4 separate regions of the Homo sapiens genome follow, and regions 2, 3 and 4 are each linked to region 1. The links are contacts of gene promoters, found by promoter capture Hi-C in human tissues and cell types (Jung and others, 2019). All regions are on one chromosome and are shown on one strand. The core of a region is centred on a gene start or on the middle of the fragment in contact, and the rest is flanking DNA. Distances in the headings are between cores, read along the strand shown. Region 1 holds the start of SP140L (SP140 nuclear body protein like). Region 2 has its middle 60 kb from the start of SP110. Region 3 overlaps SP100 (SP100 nuclear antigen). Region 4 has its middle 140 kb from the start of LINC01907.

Region 1 (2,700 bases), core at 188-2,687:
TAATCATTATTATAGCTTATTGATAAACGTGAACAATTTAAAACAATCTAAATGTCCTTCAATTGGAGAATGGTTAAAAAATTATGCTATGTAAATTCTATGGAATAGTATATGTAAAAAGAGTGAGGTAGATCTATATGCATTAAGGTGAAAAGATCTCTAAGATTTCCACCATTAAAATGAGTAGAAATGCAAAATGCAGAATAGCACGCACAATGTAATTCCATTTATTACAAAACGAGAACACAAATTATATGTTTACAAAAACATACTTCATACACGTAAATGCATCGAAAAATATGAGAAAAGTTATGCCGAAGACTCTTCACAAGACTGTGAAAGGAAGCTACAAGGCGAAGTGAGTGGTGAAGAAGACTTTTTCGTTTATACACTTCTCCACTGTTTGAAATTTTATGAGTAAGAATGTAATGTATTTCTTTTGTATTAAAAAATTTAAAAGATTAAAATCGCTTGAACCCAGGAGACAGAGGTTGCAGTGAGCCGGGATTGTGCCACTGCACTCCAGCCTGGTTGACAGAGTGAGACCCTGTCTCAAAAAAATGAAATAAAATAAAAAGATTACGTAATGTTATTTATAAACTCGTTACTAGAGAAAAGATAGGATTTCCATCTCTTTTCTGGTCAGAGGCATCCCCCATCTTGGGACAGGAAATTGAAGTAAAAATAAAAATATTTAGCTTTCTGCCATCCTGGGCCTTTTTCTTCTTTTTCCTTCTTTGGATCAAGGTCAATTGTATCAGAACTCACACCCTGAGTCAGTCAAGGAAATAGCCCCAAAGCTGACTGAGGCCCCTTGCCAAGACAGGTGAAACCACAGTTTCCAATGTTTAAAAGTAAGCCAGCTGTTTACCCTGGAGTGTCTATTTCCAAACTACCTTCTTTGACATGACATATGTGAAGGTAGAGAGGGCAGAGGGATGTGAAAGGGTTGGGAGATCATGAGGAAATGTTTGTTGAAACACAAACATATAATTTGTGTTCCTCATTCTCATGAGGAAATAATAACTCTCAGTCACAAATGACTGAAACGACTGTTCAGAGTGTCCCCGCCAGCTGAGCAGTAGTTTCAAAACAAGAAAAGTCATCTGTGTTATGGCAAGCTGGACTCACACAAACAGCTGTCCTGCTGCAGTTGTAAAAATCTGATTTCCTTATTACATTCTCTTTTATTCCATTATATTACACTACCTACCTATGTTCTTGCAAAGCAGGACTAAACTGAAGCTTTAGACAGAAACTGAACTACAGGCATGAAAGCTCCAATACTGCCAGAGATAAAGGTGAAAGGAAGAGAGATAAAGACTCACCTGGTGCTCAGGTCGCTGCCCCCACCTGCCATCGTCCCACCCTAGGCCCTGCCTGGGTGTCAGAGCCTGGCCTATGAGCTCCCCAGTCGGCCCAGCCTGCGTGCAGTGTGGCTGCCCTGACCCGGAGCAGGAAGTCGGCCGACAGACTGACTCACCCTCACAGATTTCTGCCCAAATGGGGAAAAGAAAAGTGAAAGTATTTATTTAACTTCCTGCTGGGATACAGACACCGTGTTTCTCCTCCTTTTTCACTCCAAGGGGTTCTCAGCTTTTCTGAAATGTGGCAGACGGTTGGAGGAGAGGCCTGACAAGCAGCAAGACCTGCAGGACCAGGGAAAGGAGGGCCCAGAGGACGAGCAGGGCTGGCTTCCGGGAGTCCACTTGCTTGTGCAATGGACAGCAAAAAAAAAAAAAATGTCCTTGAACCAAAATAGTCCTTAGCTGCTCTGCCCTCTTAAGAGGGGGCATAGTTTACATGGGAGTTGGGGGGAAAACTCCATGTTTGCCCCTTCCCCTTGCTGAAATGGCTGGGGGTGAGAGTTGGAGGGTTGGAGGGAAAGCCAGAAACTTCAAATCTTCTCTCAGGCCCATGGGAGAGCATGGACTGGACTAAGGTAGGTCCTGACATGGGGACCCAGGGCTGGAGAGAACCAAAATGCTCAGCATTATAACCTGGGGAGAGTGTTCTTAGCCTTCCTGGAAATCAGCCAGAAGTAAGAGAGAACTCTCCACACCCCTGGGACCAGAGGCTGGAGCCAGCATGGTAAGAAAGGCAAACATTTTAAGGGGCAAGGGTTTAAGGAATCTTGACTATGGGGCCACCTTGGAACAGCCAGGGATGAAGAGAGCTTCGGAGAAGTCACTGGAATCTTGAGAGAACAAAAGCTTCTCATTGGAGGAGGATGGAGGTTGGAACCCAGATGATCTAGACATGGAAGGGCAGGGTGGCTCCCGCGGGAGGTTCTATCTCTTCCCAGATTTTCCATTTAGATTCTGATTCAACATTCCTCAGAGAACAAGAAGCGACCGAGAAGACTCGCTTTACATCAGTATAAAGTCATAGGTAAAGAAATAGAAGCAAAGGGCGCATGAGAATGGGGCCACAGGACACAACCAGGGACCAGAACTCCAGGCTGGACCATGGGGCAGAGACAGGGAGGCAGCTGGGAGCCTGGGGGCGCTGGAATCCAGGGCCCAAGGTGAGCAGAGGGTGGAAGCTGGTGAGGATTCAGGGGCCAGAGGGGATGGTGCTCCAGAGCCATGTTTTCCAAATTACATTCTGCTGAATCCAACTTTTTCCAGCCCCCACCCCCAGCCATCTCAGCAAGGGGAAGGGGCAAACATGGAGTCCTCCCCCAACTCCCATGTAAAC
Region 2 (2,700 bases), core at 187-2,686, 170 kb after region 1:
CAGCTGCCCCCATGACTTGGTTCAGAATTGACTCACGGGCCTATGAAAGTGCTCTGGGGGTACCTGTCAAAGCTTGGTCTTGGCCAGTGAAAGATAAGCATTCAAGTTAATGGGCATATGTTAGTACTCACCAGCAGGAAAAAACTAGAGGCTTCAGTGCATCCTAGGATCCTGGGGGAAGAATTGTCATGTCCTCCTAAGAAGGCAGAATTGGTCCAAACAAGGGACAGTGAGGAGGGCAGGGTAAACAAGCCACTCCTTGCCACCTACAAGTGCCAATTTGCCCTAAATTTTCCCAGACAGAGCCCACAGGTCAGATTTTGATGTTTCTGTATCTGGACCATGACCCAGTTTGTATTCATAGCCAATCCCTAATCTCATCATCATCTCAGTTTCCAGTTCCTCAAAGAAGTTTACCCTTGAACCCCTAGGCCTGGTTCTGGCTCTGTGGAGGGCTCAGGCAGAGCAGAATGCATACAGAGGCTTTCCCATTCTCCCAGGATGGGCACAGGACCTAGCCCTGAGAGCAGCAGGCACCCTGGACTTCTACAAAAGTGTGCCATAGGCCAGGCACGGTGGCTCAAGCCTGTAATCTCAGCACTTTGGGAGGAGGCGGGTGGATCACTTGAGGCTAGGAGTTCAAGACCAGCCTGGCCAAGATGGTGAAACTCTACTAAGAATACAGAAATTAGCCCAGTGTGGTGGTGTACACCTGTAATCCCAGCTACTTGGGAGGCTGAGGCAAGGGAATCGCTTGAGCCTGTGGCGGGGTGGCGGAGGTTGCAGTGAGCCGAGATTGCACCACTGCACTCCTGCCTGGGCGACAGGAGACTCTGTCCACCCTCTCCCTACCCCACAAAAAAAAAAAAAAAAAAAAAAGTGTAGCATGCTGTTCAACCACCAGAGGGCACTGTGGGCCCCTCCAGAGACGGAAAGGAATTGAGCTATTAAAGCTCCTGCAAGGACAAGGAACTAGCAGAAAGAAGTAGTGAAGGCTTTGAAGGGGAGGAAGATGCTCTCAGTGGCTCCTATTTCATGCAGATGGAGGAAAACCAACCAAGAGCATGCGCCAGGTCCTCTCCAGATGAGACTGGCAAAGACGAAGCAGCAGGCAGTCACGTTTAGGCACATGCTTGCGAGGATTTCCTTACTGTGACAAAAGGTCCCTTCTGTTGTTTGTCACAAGTGCAAAACCTCACAGCTAGCATAATGAAACAACTGAGATGCACTCAGTAACGTGGGCTGGAAAAGGATCCCCAGTTTTTCGTTTCATAGATTGGAATCTGGTAGGAGGCCCGCCTGGGGATGGCCGGCAGCAGGCAGAGACCTGGATTCTAGATCCTCCCATTTGCAAGAATGTCCCAGGTGACCTCCTCTCGGGGATGCTAGAGGATGAGGACAGGGTGAAGAAGCCAGCCTACTGGGGGAAGGGGGGTCTTTGGGACCAATCAAGAGTGCTTAGAGAGGGGTCCTCTGAGATATCTGGACACTGACCGCTTCCCAATGAATTGCCTATGGCCCGCTGCTTCAGAATCACAGGGAGCTTGCCTAAAATGCAGATTCTGGGATGTTGGCTCTGGGTGGGAATCTCTAGGATTCAGGCCCAGGAATCTGTGTTTTTAACCAGTTGAACAAGTTTTCTAGGTGATTTTTGTTTGTTTGTTTTGTTTTGTTTTGCCACAATTAGGTTTGAGATCCACTGCCCTACGACTGGTCCTTTATCTGACTTAAACATTTGACAAAGGAGCAAATCTAACTAAGGTATCTGTGGTGTGGGCAGCAGTAGAGCCTGCAACTTAATCACAAGAGCTGTCCTTGTCCTGTGAGGTGACAACCGAGAGTTTATTGTTTGGTTGATTGCTTGGTTTGTTTAATTGTAATGTTTTGTAGTTTAATTGTTTATTTATTAACAGCTTTCAGAAACAGTAATAAGAATAGAATGTGAAGCCAACTGCAGAAGAAAAAACTAAACTGAGAAGGGAACTAAATAAAAAAGCAGCTGGGCAGATGAGATTTGGGGGTGCAGGGAGCAAGCATGTGGATGGAGGGAGGAGATTAATATTGAGCCATGGTCATGAGAACTTCAGAGAGAGATGGATGAGTGGAGGTGGCCCACACGGTATTCTCTTTTAGTGTTAAAGTCTCACCAATGCACCACGACGTAGCAGTCTCTCGTTGTGACGTATTACCTGGAGTTCTTTGTCTCATGACCCAGAGAATTAAGGAGTGTGGACACAAAAGGTGAGATTGGAGCAAAAGTTTTCTAAGCAAAAGAAGAAAGCTTTCTGCCATGGAGAGGGGGCCCAGAAGAGGGTTGCTGTCTTTACAGTTGAATGCAAAGGCTTTTATAAGAAACTGATGAGGGCTGGGCATCTCATTTGCATAAGACACAAATTTCTGTTAGCTCCACCCCATCCTCCAAGTGTGCATGTGGGCCCTTAGCTTAGTGACTCCATATTGCTTTGTTCCCCTTACTGTACATGTGTTACGGGACAGAACTTTCCACTGCAGGCGTGTCTGGGTGAGTCACCTGTGTAGCTTTTCTTATCTATGTGGCTGTGGGCGTGTCTTAGGCAAGCCCCTCTGTGCAAGTTGGCTGTTCTTTTGTTTGAAAGAATTTAACTGAGGGCCCACCCTAACTGCCTGCCTGACTGGCTTCTTCCTTTCTCCTCTCTCGGTAGGTCATGGATTGGCTCCTGC
Region 3 (2,700 bases), core at 17-2,516, 130 kb before region 1:
CTGTCCCTTCCTTTGTGCCTCTCTTGGCTCTGTTTTGTTTTTTACCTTTCCCTTTACCTACTCGTCTCATTCTTTGATGGTTAATATTTTGCTTTTTAAAAAAAATAAAAATTATAATTGCAGTATAAGACACATGAATAAAAGTGGGTTTTGAATGATCACGAAGGAAGTAAATCACTTTGATCAAGAAACAGATTACCGGCCGGGCGCGGTGGCTCACGCCTGTAATCCCAGCACTTTGGGAGGCCGAGGCGGGTGGATCATGAGGTCAGGAGATCGAGACCATCCTGGCTAACAAGGTGAAACCCCGTCTCTACTAAAAATACAAAAAATTAGCCGGGCGCGGTGGCGGGCGCCTGTAGTCCCAGCTACTCGGGAGGCTGAGGCAGGAGAATGGCGTGAACCCGGGAAGCGGAGCTTGCAGTGAGCCGAGATTGCGCCACTGCAGTCCGCAGTCCGGCCTGGGCGACAGAGCGAGACTCCGTCTCAAAAAAAAAAAAAAAAAAAAAAAAAAAAAAAAAAAAAAAAAAGAAACAGATTACCAATACCCCAGACACCTCCTGGTGACACTTCCCATTAACTGTTTCCACTAACTTGCTCAAAGACAACTACCATTGAGGTTTCCAACACTAAGGTTAATTTTGCTTGTTGTGTAATTTATAAAAATGGAATAATCTCTTTTCTCTCCACTCTTTCTTTCTCCCTTTACCTCTCTCTCAATATATATAGATCTCCCAAAAGAAGCCAAATCCCCCAAAATTGTATGGATATTTTACTCAACATGCTTGTGAAAGTCATCTGTATTCGTTTTGTATAATTATTTTCACTACTAGATAGTATTCCATTATAGAAATAAGCCATGAATTATTTATTCATTTGTACAATTTCAAGCATTTGGCTTCTATGAATAATGCTGCCTTGAGCATTCTTTTCTATGTGTTTTGGTGACATAACACACATTTCTGTTGGTTTCTGCTGAGGAATATAATTGTTGGGTTATAGGGTATGTATATTTTCACCTTTGGAAGATTACCCCAAACTGTTTTCCCAAAAGCATATATAAAGGCAGAGATGAAAGAAAGAGAGCTTGGCAAATTCCAGTAAGTAAAGGAAGCTTAGTGTGGTGGGAATGTGGCATGAAAGGGCGAGAGGTGGGTGACGGGGAACGCGCAGGTGCGTGGTAGACATCCTTCAATTCACCACTCCAAGCAGTGTTGATCTACTGCTAAGGGCCACACGAAGGCACTGGGTTTCAAACAGGAAAGTCATATCAACTGGTTTCTATTTTGGAAAAGTCCATTCAACTGAAGTGCAGACTTGAGAGGAGCAAGACTGGGGGCCAGACAGGAGACTGTTCCTCTAATTTTAGTGAGAGTGACAGGGGTCTAGATTAGGGTGTTCGTGCTGGGGATGAAGAGAAATGGACAAGTTAGAGATATTTTAAAGTTGGGATTGACACAAGTGGCAAATGAAATGATGATTGTTTTAAGCCACTAAGTTTCAGGATAGTTTGTTACATGACACAGCAATAGATGACAGATGCAGCTTCCAAAGAGAGATGTTCTTCAGGTCTTTAAATAAAGGTCTTCAGGCAATTGGGGAAGGGAGTCAACAGGACAGGTCTGAGCTGGAGATGTATGTTTAGAAATCAACAGATCTTAGATGGTGATTGAGCCATGGAGAGGAAGTGATGCCTGAGGAGAGGCTTATTGTAATCTGGGGGTGGAGGTGGAGTCACAGGGGCCATTTTGATAAGAGGGCAGCTGATCTTTCTCCATAGTAATAGGACACCCTGTGCCTCCTTTCTAGCTCTTATCTCCTCAGATCAGAGAATGTCTTGATTTGTCTTCTCTCTTCCCTTCTTTGCATGATCCACTCTCTACCAATTTTTCATTCATTGTCCTTTAACTCATTTTCTGCATACTTCTCTTTGTGCCTCCCTCCATTTTTCCTATTTCTTGGTATTTATTTCCCTCTATGTTTTTTCTATTCATAGTCTTTTTATCTACACTTTTTAAAAATTATTGTCTCTTAGAGACAGAACCAGGGTGAGGTGAAGGTGGTGCTATGGGGTGCCTTGAAATTTAAGGAAGCTCAGTCTCACATGCCAAGTGAGGTCTCCTTACATGCTGTGCCCTGGGGGCCTCCCTGCCTCACCTCGTGCCAGGCCTGTTGTCCCATATGTAATGTTGCATCTCTGTTACATTTCCTACCTGCTTTGAGTCGGCCCTTATTTCTTAATTATTAACGTTACCTCTGCAAGCTTCTTCTATGTCACTTTTTTTTCAAAAATACTTTCGCATCTGATGTGTGAGTGCTATATCACTTTTTGTCTTTCTATATCTTCCTCATCTCAAACATTCCCATCATTACGAAAGGTCTCTTCCAGTGCCATTGTCTACCACACCAGAGGCCCTCCACTTGCCATTCCTTCCTGAAGGTCTTTCACCTGGGCTTCCTTCCTTTGCAAATCTGACAAGCAGCATCATGCATAATTTCTACGTTTTCATGATAACTTCTGAAAAGTAACTTGCAACATATTTCTATTCAACAACTCCACAACATGACAATGTATGGATACCATGTCACTTTATCTAAAATCTGTCTCACTCATACACAGTTGACCCTTCAACAACAGGGGCTTGAACTACATGAGTCCACTTGTATGCAGATTTTCTTCCACCTCTGCCACCCCTCAGA
Region 4 (2,700 bases), core at 38-2,537, 230 kb before region 1:
TCAAGTTTGTTAATCACATGGTTCAGATTTTCTACATCCTTACTGATTTTTTGCTTGTGCCATCAGCGACTGAGGTGAGTTACAAGCTTCTACTTTGGTAGTGGATTTGTCTATTTCTCCTTTTAATCTTGTCAATCTTTGCTTTATATATTTTGTGGCTTTTCTGTTAGGTACCAATAAATGTAGAATTATCTTTTGTGTGTGTTGAATTTCTTATCATTGTGTAACGTCCCTCTTTATCCCTAATGGTGTTTTTTGCTTAAAAGTCTACACCAGTGTAGAAAAAATTTTTTTTTCTTTACTCTCTTAGGTTTAATGCCTGGGACCTATAAATTAAACTGACAAAAGACAGATTAACAGGAGAAAAAGCACAGAAATTTTATTTAATATTAGTATTTTTACATGGCAAAGGAAACATCATAGCAAGAAATAAAAACCCCAAATAAATGAATTGACTGGAGGCTTATATACTATTTTAACACAGAGCAATAACTTGTGGAGATGTAACAATACAAAGGAAAAAAGGATTTGGGCTAAGAGTGGTAAATTATGGGAAAGTGACTAAGAAATATATGGAGAAAACTAATGGGAGATAAGGGTTATTTTAGTGAGGTTTGTTTGTACAGATTCATCATGGCTTCAACTCCTTGACTCTGGTGATAAGAATGTTCTATTCCTGGTACAGGGATGGCACTTTTCTTAGGCATAAAGGTGTAAGAAAGAGACCCCTTTCTGCATCTGCTGTTTCTCAATTGCCTTCAGCTCAAAATAATCAACATGGCAAAGTGGCATATTATGGGGTGATATGTTCTGATACCATTCACCGGCTTTATATTTTTTTGAGACGACTTAGTGTTTGCATATCTTATTCCATCTTTTTATTTTTAACTTATATATCTTCGTATATTCAATCATGTCTCTTGCAAGCAGCCTATAGGTTTTCTTTAATCCAGTATGACAATGTTTGCCTTTTTTTTGTCTGTTTTTGAGACGGAGTCTTGCTCTGTCACCCAGGCTGGAGTGCAGTGGCATGATCTCGGCTCACTGCAACCTCCACCTCCTGGGTTCAAGCAATTCTCATGCCTTGACCTCCCGAGTAGTTGGGACTACAGGCACACGCCACCATGCCTACCTAATTTTTTTGTATTTTTAGTAGAGATGGGGGTCTCACCATATTGGCCGGGCTGGTCTCGAACTCCTGACCTCATGATCCACCTGCCTCAGCCTCCCAAAGTGCTGGGATTACAGGCATGAGCCACTGTGCCTGGGCTATGTTTGGCTTTTAATTGGAGAAATTGTTTCATTTACTTTCCATGTAACTACTGATATATTTAGGTTTAAATCTACCATCTTCCTGCTTGTTTTCTATTTGTCTTACCTGTTTTATGTTCCTTTTCTTCTTCTTACTTCTTTATTGGATTACATTAAAATTACATTATTATAGTCATTTTTGGTTTATCAATGCCTAGTAAACATTAATACTCTTACCATTTTCTAGACAACATAAGGACTTTACACATTCCTATTTTAGATTTCTCCTGCCATTTTATAAATCTTATAGATATTAGAAGTAAATATACTTTGGGAAAAGCCACTTGGAAAACAGAAAAGCCAATAAAACTCTTAATATTCATATAAACATATTTTTCTTTACAAAAGAATTATTCTAATTGTTTGCTGCATATGTTACAAATAGAAAATAATTCCTTTTGATTTTGGAAGATTCATGTAATAGTAGTAGTTAGCTTGCTTTGTAGTAGTTAAATTAGGCTATCTGCTCTAACAAATAGACCCCAATATATATAACATCCTCAAACAAAATTTAAGTTTATTTCTTTTAAAACAGTCTAATGAGTTACAAGTTGGTGAGATGGGAGGGTTGTTGGGTTGTTGGGGGCTCTCTTCCATGTAATTATGCATGGTCTCAGACTGATGGAGGTTTTGACACTCATGGCTTCCAAGGGTGTCCTTACTTGGAGACTGCCATCCAGTTCATGGCAGAGGAAAGATTGTGGGGCAGTACGTGTAAGAAGCTTTTATGGGTCAGCCTTGGAACTAGGCACATGTCTTCCTCAGATGTTCCTCTATCTAGAACTCGGTCATAGGCCACTCATACCTGCAGGAATTCCTGGAAAATATAGTTTAACTGTGTGCCCTGGAAGAAGAGGAAAATACAGTTTGGGTAAGCAGCTAGCTGTCTCTCCTATACACTTTCTATCTTGTCCTCAAGTATCACCCTTCTTCCGATCTTCCCACATATAGAACCCCTTACCCTCTTTCTTCCTGCCCCTCCCTTACAGGAGATAACACAAACTCCCATATAATTACTGCACACAGGCCAATATCCACTTACTTTGTGTGAAGTACAGTTCTCCCTATCAGGTCTGGATGATGTTCTTGATGTTTTGGTGACCTTTTAATAAGTTTGTCTTCCCTTACTGTACTTCCAATATACAATGTTTGATGAGTGACAGAGTAATCCCAATACAACTACTATCTAGGAAGTGGAAAAATGGGAGACAAACAGTGGCCAATGGTCTATTATCTAAATCTACCAGGCTGTGATTAAAGGGGTCCCTCTCCTCTAGCAGTGGAGGAATTTGGAAATTTCTTGACTTTGATTCTGCTCTTTTGAAATAATTCTCCTGACCGTGCCCTCTATTTTTTTTTTTTTTTCATTTTCTCTTTCAATTTCCTTCT

The links. The method cuts DNA at HindIII sites, captures the fragments that hold promoters and counts their contacts. A contact is called where the count stands out against the background at its distance.
Region 2: a contact is called between a fragment that was not itself captured here and the fragment with the promoter of SP140L in region 1, in 2 of the 25 tissues and cell types used here (mesenchymal stem cells and thymus).
Region 3: a fragment that was not itself captured here is called in contact with the fragment with the promoter of SP140L in region 1 in 3 of the 25 tissues and cell types used here (dorsolateral prefrontal cortex, mesenchymal stem cells and thymus).
Region 4: a contact is called between a fragment that was not itself captured here and the fragment with the promoter of SP140L in region 1, in 1 of the 25 tissues and cell types used here (lymphoblastoid cells).

Annotation. Positions count from the first base shown.
Region 1 is chr2:230,325,930-230,328,629 of GRCh38, reverse strand. SP140L (SP140 nuclear body protein like) reads right to left here and starts at 1,437. Exons shown (of 19, transcript NM_138402.6): 1 at 1,329-1,437. The coding sequence starts at 1,360. RefSeq lists an enhancer at 1,294-1,763. The HindIII fragment of the contact is 8,396 bases long and covers 1-2,700 here.
Region 2 is chr2:230,158,553-230,161,252 of GRCh38, reverse strand. No RefSeq gene overlaps it. Among named protein-coding and RNA genes, the nearest start is that of SP110, 60 kb to the left of the region's middle. RefSeq lists a silencer at 858-927. The HindIII fragment of the contact is 3,967 bases long and covers 1-2,700 here.
Region 3 is chr2:230,458,423-230,461,122 of GRCh38, reverse strand. All of the region lies in intron 8 of SP100 (SP100 nuclear antigen), which reads right to left. All of the region lies in intron 3 of LOC101928816 (a long non-coding RNA gene), which reads left to right. Among named protein-coding and RNA genes, the nearest start is that of SP100, 44 kb to the right of the region's middle. The HindIII fragment of the contact is 6,659 bases long and covers 1-2,700 here.
Region 4 is chr2:230,557,312-230,560,011 of GRCh38, reverse strand. No RefSeq gene overlaps it. Among named protein-coding and RNA genes, the nearest start is that of LINC01907, 140 kb to the left of the region's middle. The HindIII fragment of the contact is 4,770 bases long and covers 1-2,700 here.